Linked DNA regions of Homo sapiens: all the other regions are linked to region 2. Evidence: promoter capture Hi-C in human tissues and cell types (Jung and others, 2019). All regions are on one chromosome and are shown on one strand. Each heading gives the region's core, a stretch centred on a gene start or on the middle of the fragment in contact. The rest is flanking DNA. Distances are from core to core; before and after follow the strand shown. Region 1 overlaps SPTLC1 (serine palmitoyltransferase long chain base subunit 1). Region 2 holds the start of ROR2 (receptor tyrosine kinase like orphan receptor 2). Region 3 overlaps ROR2 (receptor tyrosine kinase like orphan receptor 2).

Evidence for each region. Contacts are between HindIII fragments. The study calls those that stand out against the background at their distance.
Region 1: a fragment that was not itself captured here is called in contact with the fragment with the promoter of ROR2 in region 2 in 3 of the 25 tissues and cell types used here (IMR-90 fibroblasts, bladder and mesenchymal stem cells).
Region 3: a contact is called between a fragment that was not itself captured here and the fragment with the promoter of ROR2 in region 2, in 4 of the 25 tissues and cell types used here (IMR-90 fibroblasts, heart left ventricle, lymphoblastoid cells and 1 more).

Annotation. Positions count from the first base shown.
Region 1 is chr9:92,074,402-92,077,101 of GRCh38, reverse strand. All of the region lies in intron 5 of SPTLC1 (serine palmitoyltransferase long chain base subunit 1), which reads left to right. Among named protein-coding and RNA genes, the nearest start is that of SPTLC1, 40 kb to the left of the region's middle. The HindIII fragment of the contact is 3,187 bases long and covers 1-2,700 here.
Region 2 is chr9:91,948,883-91,951,582 of GRCh38, reverse strand. It overlaps ROR2 (receptor tyrosine kinase like orphan receptor 2), which reads left to right and starts at 1,355. Exons shown (of 9, transcript NM_004560.4): 1 at 1,355-1,716. The coding sequence starts at 1,620. RefSeq lists silencers at 782-1,076, 1,190-1,369 and enhancers at 1,563-2,062, 2,063-2,564. The HindIII fragment of the contact is 10,523 bases long and covers 1-2,700 here.
Region 3 is chr9:91,822,063-91,824,762 of GRCh38, reverse strand. The region is part of intron 1 of ROR2 (receptor tyrosine kinase like orphan receptor 2); the gene reads left to right. Among named protein-coding and RNA genes, the nearest start is that of ROR2, 130 kb to the left of the region's middle. The HindIII fragment of the contact is 4,420 bases long and covers 1-2,700 here.

The DNA of each region.
Region 1 (2,700 bases), core at 54-2,553, 130 kb before region 2:
TAAGCTGGAGGGTAAGTTTAGTAAGGTGTGTTTTTAAAAGGTCCTTGGCTTTTTCTACTTTTCCAGAGAACTGAGGGTGATATGGGGCATGAAGATTCCATTGAATACCGAGGGCTTGGGAAACTGCTTGAGTGATTTGGCTGATGAAGACCAGCCCATTATCAGACTGTATGGAAGTAGGGAGACCAAACCGGGGAATTATGTCTGTTAGAAGAAGGAAATAACTGCAGTGGCCTTTTCAGCCTTCAGACCCCGTGGGAAAAGCCTCAACCCATCTGATGAAGGTGTCGACCCAAACCAGGAGGTATTTGAGTTTCCAGACACGGGGCATAAGAGTAGAGTCAATTTGCCAATCTTGAGCAGGGATAAATTGTCGTGCTTGATGCATAAGGAAAGGAGGAGGTTTAAGAAAGCCTTGATGGGGTAGTAGAGTGGCATTATAGCCCATTGAGAGGTGATTGTTTTGAGGATGGATTTCCAGGCTGGAAAAGAAATGAGAGGTTCTAAAAGGTGGGTTAAAGATTTATATCCTACATGGAAGTGGTCATCAAAGGAGGAGAGGATAGAGTAAGCTTGAGAGGCAGGGAGAAGGAGCTTTCCATGATCTAAAAACCAGTTGCCTTGAGTGGGAAGTGACTGGTAGTTTAAGGTTTCAGAAGGAGAGTAATAGGAGTGATAGATGAGAAGGAGAAATATTGGCCACTGGGAGCAGATACTGGGGAGTTTGCTGTTTCTTTGGCTGTTTTATTGGCATAGGTGTTTCCTTGGGCAATGGGATCAGAGGTTTTTTGGTGTCCTTTGCAGTGGATTACTCTGGCTTTGGCTGGAAGGAGGGCAGCTTTAAGGAGGGCTTTATTAAGGGGGCATTGATAATAGAGGATCCTTGTGTAGTGAGAAAACCTCTTTCTGCCCAGTTGACAGGGTGGCGGTGGAGGATGTGAAGGGCGTATTTAGAGTCAATTAGATATTAACATGCAGTCCTTTGCCAAGAGTTAGGGCATGAGTTAGTGCTATTAATTCAGCTTGTTGAGAGGTTGTAAATGGGGAGAGTGCAGCAGTTTCAGTGATAGATGAGTGAGACACAATGGCCTATCCAGCTTTTCCTGGTGTTAATCAACTGGTTTTTGAAGAACTGCCATCAATAAACCAAGTGTGGTCTGGGTCAGGGACAGGAAAAAGGGAAATATGGGGAAAAGGAGAGGAGGCTATGTGGATTAAGGAAATACAGTTGTGTGGATTAGGATTTGTAGTGGGTAGTAAGTGAGAGGCCGGGTTGAAGTCCTGTCCAAAGGCAATGGTCCCCATGAGATTTTCAATAAAGAGTGAATAGAGCTGGAGGAGGTGGGGAGCCGAGAGTATGTTTTATATGTGAAGAGGAAACTAAGTCTTGGAGGTTGTGAGTGCTATAAAAGGTGAGTGGGGCATAGCCTGTGATTTTGAGAGACTCTAAGAGTATAAGGGCTGTGGCTGCTGTGGCATGCAGGCATGACGGCCAGCCCAGGACTGTAAGATTAAGCTGTTTGAATACAAAGGCTACTGGTCACAGGCCTGGTTCCTGAGTAAGAATTCCTACAGCGCAGCCCTGCGTTTTTGCTGTGTGGAGAGGAAGGAGGGTTGGGAGGAGTCGGGAAGCGCTTGAGTAGGGGTTGCCTCTAGGGCCTTTTTTAGAGTAAAAGGAGGGGCGAGGGAAGGATTTAGGATCTGTGGGTTCAGCTAAGTTTCCTTTTGTGAGTTTATAGAGTGGTTTGGTTAGGATGGCAAAACCTGGTATCCAAAGGCAGAAGTATCCAACAACGTCTAAGAAGGAGAGGAGTAGTTGTTTGGTGGTGGGGATTGGAATTTGGAGATTAGCTGAATACGGTCTGCTGGAAGTGCACACCTATGTTGGTGGAGGATTATACCAAGATAAGTAGAAATTTGAGCTTTGGAGGGGGATACTCTGTACCCCTTGGAGTAGAGGTGTTGAAGAAGCAGGATAGTGTCTTGCTGGGAGGATTGGTAAGAGGGGCTGCAAAGAAGAAGGTCATCCACATATTGAATGAGATGGGAAACAAATGGACGAAAAGAAAGCAGGTCACGGGAGAGGGCCTGGCTAAAGTAGTGTGGGCTGTCTCTGAAACCTTAGGGCAGGACGGTCCAGGTGAGTTGTTGGGACTGGTGGGTGTCAGGGTCAGTCCAAGTAAAGGCAAAAAGGGGCTGGGAAGAGGGATGTAAGGGGATGGTAAAGAAGGCATCTTTGAGGTCAATAACAGAATAATGAGTTGTGGAAGGCGGTATTGAGGATAGGAGAGTATAAGGGTTAGGCATGACAGGATGAATGGGGAGGACAATCTGATTGATGAAACGAAGGTCTTGGACTAGCCTGTAGGATTTATCTGGTTTTTGAATAGGTAGGATGGGAGAGTTGTAAGGGGAGTTGGTAGGGACTAAGAGGCCATGCTGTAGTAGACAGGTAATAACAGGCTTTAGGCCCCTTAAAGTCTGTTGTGGGATGGGGTATTGGCATTGAGCAGGATAAGGGTGGCCATGTTTCAATGGGATGATAAGGGGTGAATGATCAGTTGCAGGCGAAGGAGTGGAGGTATCCCATACTTTAGGGTTAAGGTGGGGAGATGAAAGGAGAGGTTGCGAGGGAGGTTTGGAATTGGATAAAAGGGTAGCTCTGAGATGTGGCTGTAGTCCAGGAATAGTCAGGGAGGA
Region 2 (2,700 bases), core at 106-2,605:
GTGGAACTAAGTGCTTCAGCACCTACTCTTAAAACATTACTCTAAAAGCATCCTTAAGGATTCTAAGGGAAGCTAAAGGGAGGAAAACCCCAAAGATAAACCCCTGGCAGTCCTCTAACCACTGGGGAGAGCAGCCCCCCCGTTCAGACCCGCACCAGCCTGGGCAGAGGAACAGCCTGAGCCCGTCTAAGAAGTTTGGTAATAATTTTGCCATCCAGTTGAGGAGGGGCTAGGATCTTCTCCCATTCTCCTACTGGATTTACAGCAGCTCCTGGGAATGAGAACTGCGTGAGATATTTCCCTACACAAATTGGGTAGAGATAGCCGGACGCCTAAATACTTTTAACAGAGGTAACAAGCTAGAGCTGGCTTAGTCATTTTGTCCGCAGACCATAGCAAGAGAGTTTTTATTTCTGGCCACGTCTGAGGCCTCACGTCTGGCACCCAAGGCCAGGGCTCTCCCTAATGCCCTCCAATTAACAGAGCTTGGTACTCCAGCAAAAACACCAAACAAACTGCTGGATAATCAGTTAAAAGATCAATCTCATGGAACAAGCAACTGAGATGCTGGAGAATCCAATTCCTTCCTCTAAGAGGAAAAACAAAGACATTTGCATGTGCTGAGCAAAACCAAGAATAAGCAAGAAAACATGCTATTTGAATTCCGTTCAAAATGTCTCTAATAAGTGAAGCAAATTCTGCACATTCTGGGCCTCTGCAGAGAACAAATAGTGTTCTGCCTTTAATGGGTAAAATTATACAATTTGCTTTTAACAGTAAACCAAAAGCCGCGGTGGCTTCGGATAGCATCGCGCTCCCGAGGGCTCCCTCCACGCAGCTCGACCCCTGGCAGTTTTGAGCATTTCGGGGGACGCGCTTGTCCCCACCGACCTGGGAGGGCGCCGGTGCCAAGGCGGCCTGTTTGTTTTCCTGAACATTTCCTTTTGCAACTTTCGCTTCTCCTCTTCCTGCCTCACCGCTGGTGTCTGGGGCTGGGTGGCTCTCAGATTTGTCCCGGTGCGCAGTGCAGCCTGGAGTTACTGATTTGTGACCTAGATCCCCGGGTGTGTCGCCCCCGAAAGTCGGGGGCACCCGCTCTGGGCGCCTCTCCTGCGTGGGCAGACCCGCCGAACTCCGGCTGACGCCCCCAAGGCGCCACCTTTGTGTTCAAGCGTTCCGAGGCGCAGGCCCGAGGGCGGGCGCAGGAGGCAGGTCCGGGGCCCCAGCTGCAGCCCCAGCTCCTTGGGTCCCGCCCGCCGCCCGCGCGTTCCCCCGGCAGGGGGCGCCGGCGCAAGCCTCGCTCTGCCCATCGGGGCGGGCGAGCGGGGACCCTGCCTCCTGCGCGCTCGCCCGCGGTCCGCCCCCCGCGCTCGTCCTGGCGGCCGGCGGGACGCCCCAGCCCGCGCCAAGGAACCTCCCCAGCCAGCCCTTGCCGTGGCCGGAGCCGAGCGGCGCATCCGGGCCGGAGAAGAGGACGACGACGAGGTCCTCGAAGTGGACCCGTTTGCGAAGCGCCAGGGAGAAGGAGGAGCGGACGCATCGTAGAAAGGGGTGGTGGCGCCCGACCCCGCGCCCCGGCCCGAAGCTCTGAGGGCTTCCCGGCCCCCACTGCCTGCGGCATGGCCCGGGGCTCGGCGCTCCCGCGGCGGCCGCTGCTGTGCATCCCGGCCGTCTGGGCGGCCGCCGCGCTTCTGCTCTCAGTGTCCCGGACTTCAGGTAGGATCTGGCGTTCCGGCTTGTGCGCAGACGGTAGCTCACGGCTCGCTTGGCCAGCCCTTCCGCCGCCACTATGCTCCCGGCCGCTGCGCCGGCGCCCATGCTCCTGAACGAGGGGCGCCAGGCAGGGCCATTCGCATCTCGCCCGACGCCGCTCCCGGCCCGCACCCCGGACCCCCTCGGGCTGGTTACAATAAGCCGCGCTCTGGGGACGCCTAAGTGTTTCCAGAGTCTGGGGGCGGGCGGCGGCGGCTGGGAGCCTCTCGGTGGCGCTTCCCGAGGGTCGCGAGTGGGAGTGCGAGTGTGAATGTGAGTACCCGCCCTGGGCCCGGGACCCGAGTCCGCAGATGTGCCCCGAGGGTCCCAGGACCCGGGCTTCCTCCCCGAGGTCTTCCTCCTTCAAGGGCACACGGCCCCGAGTGTCCCCCGTCTGTCTCGGAGCGTCCCCCCACCCCCAGGGCGGCCTGATGCCTGGCAGAATCCTGGGGTGGACGTGGCCCCGGAGAAGCGGCTCTTGCGGCGGGGGTGGGGGCGCCGGCGGCTCCCGGGTCCTGACTTTCCCAGCCCGCGGGCCGCTTGATGGAAACGGGCTCTTTGGCATCCCTTTTGTTGGTCCCTGAAACCTCCTCTCCCCCACCGCTCTGGGGTGGCCGAAGTGGTGTGTGATCTGGATTGAAATGGTTTGTGACTGGGATCGCGGGTCCCTGAGCGGCTGGGGCGCGGCCGCCTTCTGGCCGCGCCGGGGGGACCCCCGGGACCTGTAGGAGGCTGGCGGCGGGAGGGGCGGGGCCCGGCTCCTAGGTGGGTTTCCTCCCGGGGCCCCACTTCCCCCGAGTCCCTGCGCGGTTTCGGCTGCTTGGATCCGGGGCGCAGAGGAACGGCGGGGAGGTTCGGAAGTGCAGCTTGGGACCTGCCTAGGTTGCCTGGAGGAGGCGGCGTTAGCTCTGGCGGTGCAGACTCCGGGAGCACCTCCCGCCCGCGCGC
Region 3 (2,700 bases), core at 142-2,641, 130 kb after region 2:
GGAGAGCTGTGTGTGTCCCACCCCGATGCCCTGTTTCTCATCAAGGAAATGGGGGTGTTGCATACCAGGGCCAGAGGACAGCTGCCTCGGGTGGGGGAGTTCCCGGGCACTCCCAGATGTGCCTGCTGGGAACATTTTTGGTGTGCGTTGAAACATTGGGATTTGGTTGCATTTCATCGTCCTCTGTTTCCTACTACATTTTTGGTGAGTGCTTTTGAAATTTTTCTCCCTTTCGCTTTTCTTCCTGTGTTTGCCACTATGAAGTAGACCTGTTGAATGCACTGTGTCCTGCAGAGGGGATGCCCTGCCCCCGGCGTGTGCACATTCCTACCTGTTAGTGAGGTTTAGTGCCCACTTCACTGGGAACATGAAGTGCCAGGGGATGCTGATGCTGCAGTCCCAAAAGGCCACACCCTGAGTGGAGAGGCCCCTCTAGCAGGAAGCACAGTGAGTTTGGCTGGGGGAACCCCACAGGCATGTAATCCAAGGGGCTTGGATGTAATGCCCAGCTTCATCATTTCCTTGTGGCTCTGAGCATTTGTTTACCTGCCTGAGGCCCATCCTTTATCTGTAAGATGCCGGTAATGGTGTCTCTCTGGGAAGGTGGCCTGGTCGTGATGATTACCTGGGAACTGTGAAGTAGAGAAAGTCTGGCAGATTCTATCGTCGGCACATGAAATTCTTATTTTCTCTGCCCATCGACTTAGACACACTGCTGTGAAGCACCAGCTCATTGTGAAAAGCCTGTTTTCTCTGAGCTCTGCTAGTGGAGGTAGAAGCAGGCTGACTCTGAGCACAGGCATGGAAGAACAGCAACAAACTGCAAGGATCTTAGAGGAACCGCTGGTGAATCCGGCAGAGATTGTGTATTTCAGAGAAATTTAGGAGATTGAGATGCCTTGGGCATTTGGAGCTCTGGGGGCACCTTCCCTGACGCCCCAGCCTAACTAAATGTAATCCTGTTTATTCATTGTCACCTTGGGAATGTGGGCCTCCTTATTCCTTCCCGTCTTTTCATTATGAGAGTTTTCAAATATGCACAAAAGTTGAAAGATAATACTGCAAACACACACATAAACTCTCCACCCAGATTCAGCGGTTGTTGATAGTATGCTGTTTCTTGCCCCCACTTCCTCTCTGCTCCTTAAATCCATATTTTATAAAAATTTGTTGCTGAGGCTGGGCACGGTGGCTCATGCCTGTAATCCCAGCACTTGGGGAGGCTGAGGCAGGTGGATCATGAGGTCAGGAGTTTGAAAAAAAAAAATCAGCTGGCGTGGTGGCATGCGCCGGCAATCCCAGCTACTTGGGAGGCTGAGGCAGGAGAATTGCTTGAACCTAGGAGGTGGAGGTTGCAGTGGGCCGAGATCATGTCACTCCAGCCTGGGCGAGAGAGCAAGATTCCGTCTTGAAAAAAAAAAAAAGTGTTGCTGAACAGTTTGAAAATAAGTTGTTGACATCATGACATGCCCCTGCCCCAAATATGTGAGCATCCATCTCCTCTAAGAAAAACTGTCATTCTCCATAATGGCAGCACCATTCTTACATGGAACAAAATTAACAGCAGTCCCATGATATCGTCTAATGGTTACTTGATATTCACCTTTCTCCAGTTCTCTTCAGAATGTGTTTAATAGCTTCTCTCTCTGCAAACCTGGATCTGCTTGTTATAACTGCTTAGACTCTTTAATCTAAAATAGCCCTTCCTTTTTGTTCTTACCTTTGTGACATTAACTGTTAGAAGAGGAAAAGCTAGTTATCTTCCAGAATGTCGCACCTTTGAATTAGTGTGACTGTTCCCTCCGGTGATGTTTCTTACTGTCTCCCTTACTGTCTTTCTCTGCCCTTGTGTTTGCTGTCAGACTGGATGTCTCTGCGTCTGTGGCCAGAAGACTTATTGGAGAAGCTGTGCACGTCTGGCTGCATCACACGTAGGGGTCAGTGGTCCCACTGTGTCAGAGATGCTAAATCCGACCACCTGGTGAAAGTGGTGGCTGCCCCCTTCTCCCACTCCTCTGAAAAGCCATGTTGTATTTCTGCCTGTCCTGAGTATGAAATCTGTAGGACGATACTTGGACATTCTGTATCTATCTTGTTCCCCAAACAGCCTTCTGCTCAGTGGTTTTCGCATCCAGTGAGTCTTGCCTGAATCAGGAATTTTATGGCAGGTTGCAAAATGACAATTTTCTAATTTTGCCATTTCTACTGAAAAGAAAAGCCTCCTCTGCTTTTGAGAATCATTGATGGCTGATGATATTTTTAAAAACTCAGTGTATTACAGAATCATTTTTGTTCTTCCTGATGCTCAAATTCAGTCTATGGGAGCCCTGGAAGCAGGTGCCTTTGTTCTTTTAGTTTTTGAGTCTTTCTTCCAATCTGGCACAGTGAGGTACCCCAGCTCACCTTGTATTATACATCCACATCGTCCAGAGTGAAGATGAACTGTTTTTCCAAGGAACTCTGATCCTTGGTGGTGGTGTGTAAACACCAATGCATGGATGCTGGTGTGCTCAGGGACCCTGAGTGGCCACTGCCTCCAGGCCCTTCAGTAACCAGCTCCAGGAGAAAACATGTTTTAAAAATCTTGACTTTGTATAGCTGGTTCCAGTTCAAATTTCATATTCAAATGTTGGCCTCTTTACATTTCCATCACTTCATGGATTTCTCTCATCCCGATTTGGGTCAACTGCCGTGTTTACA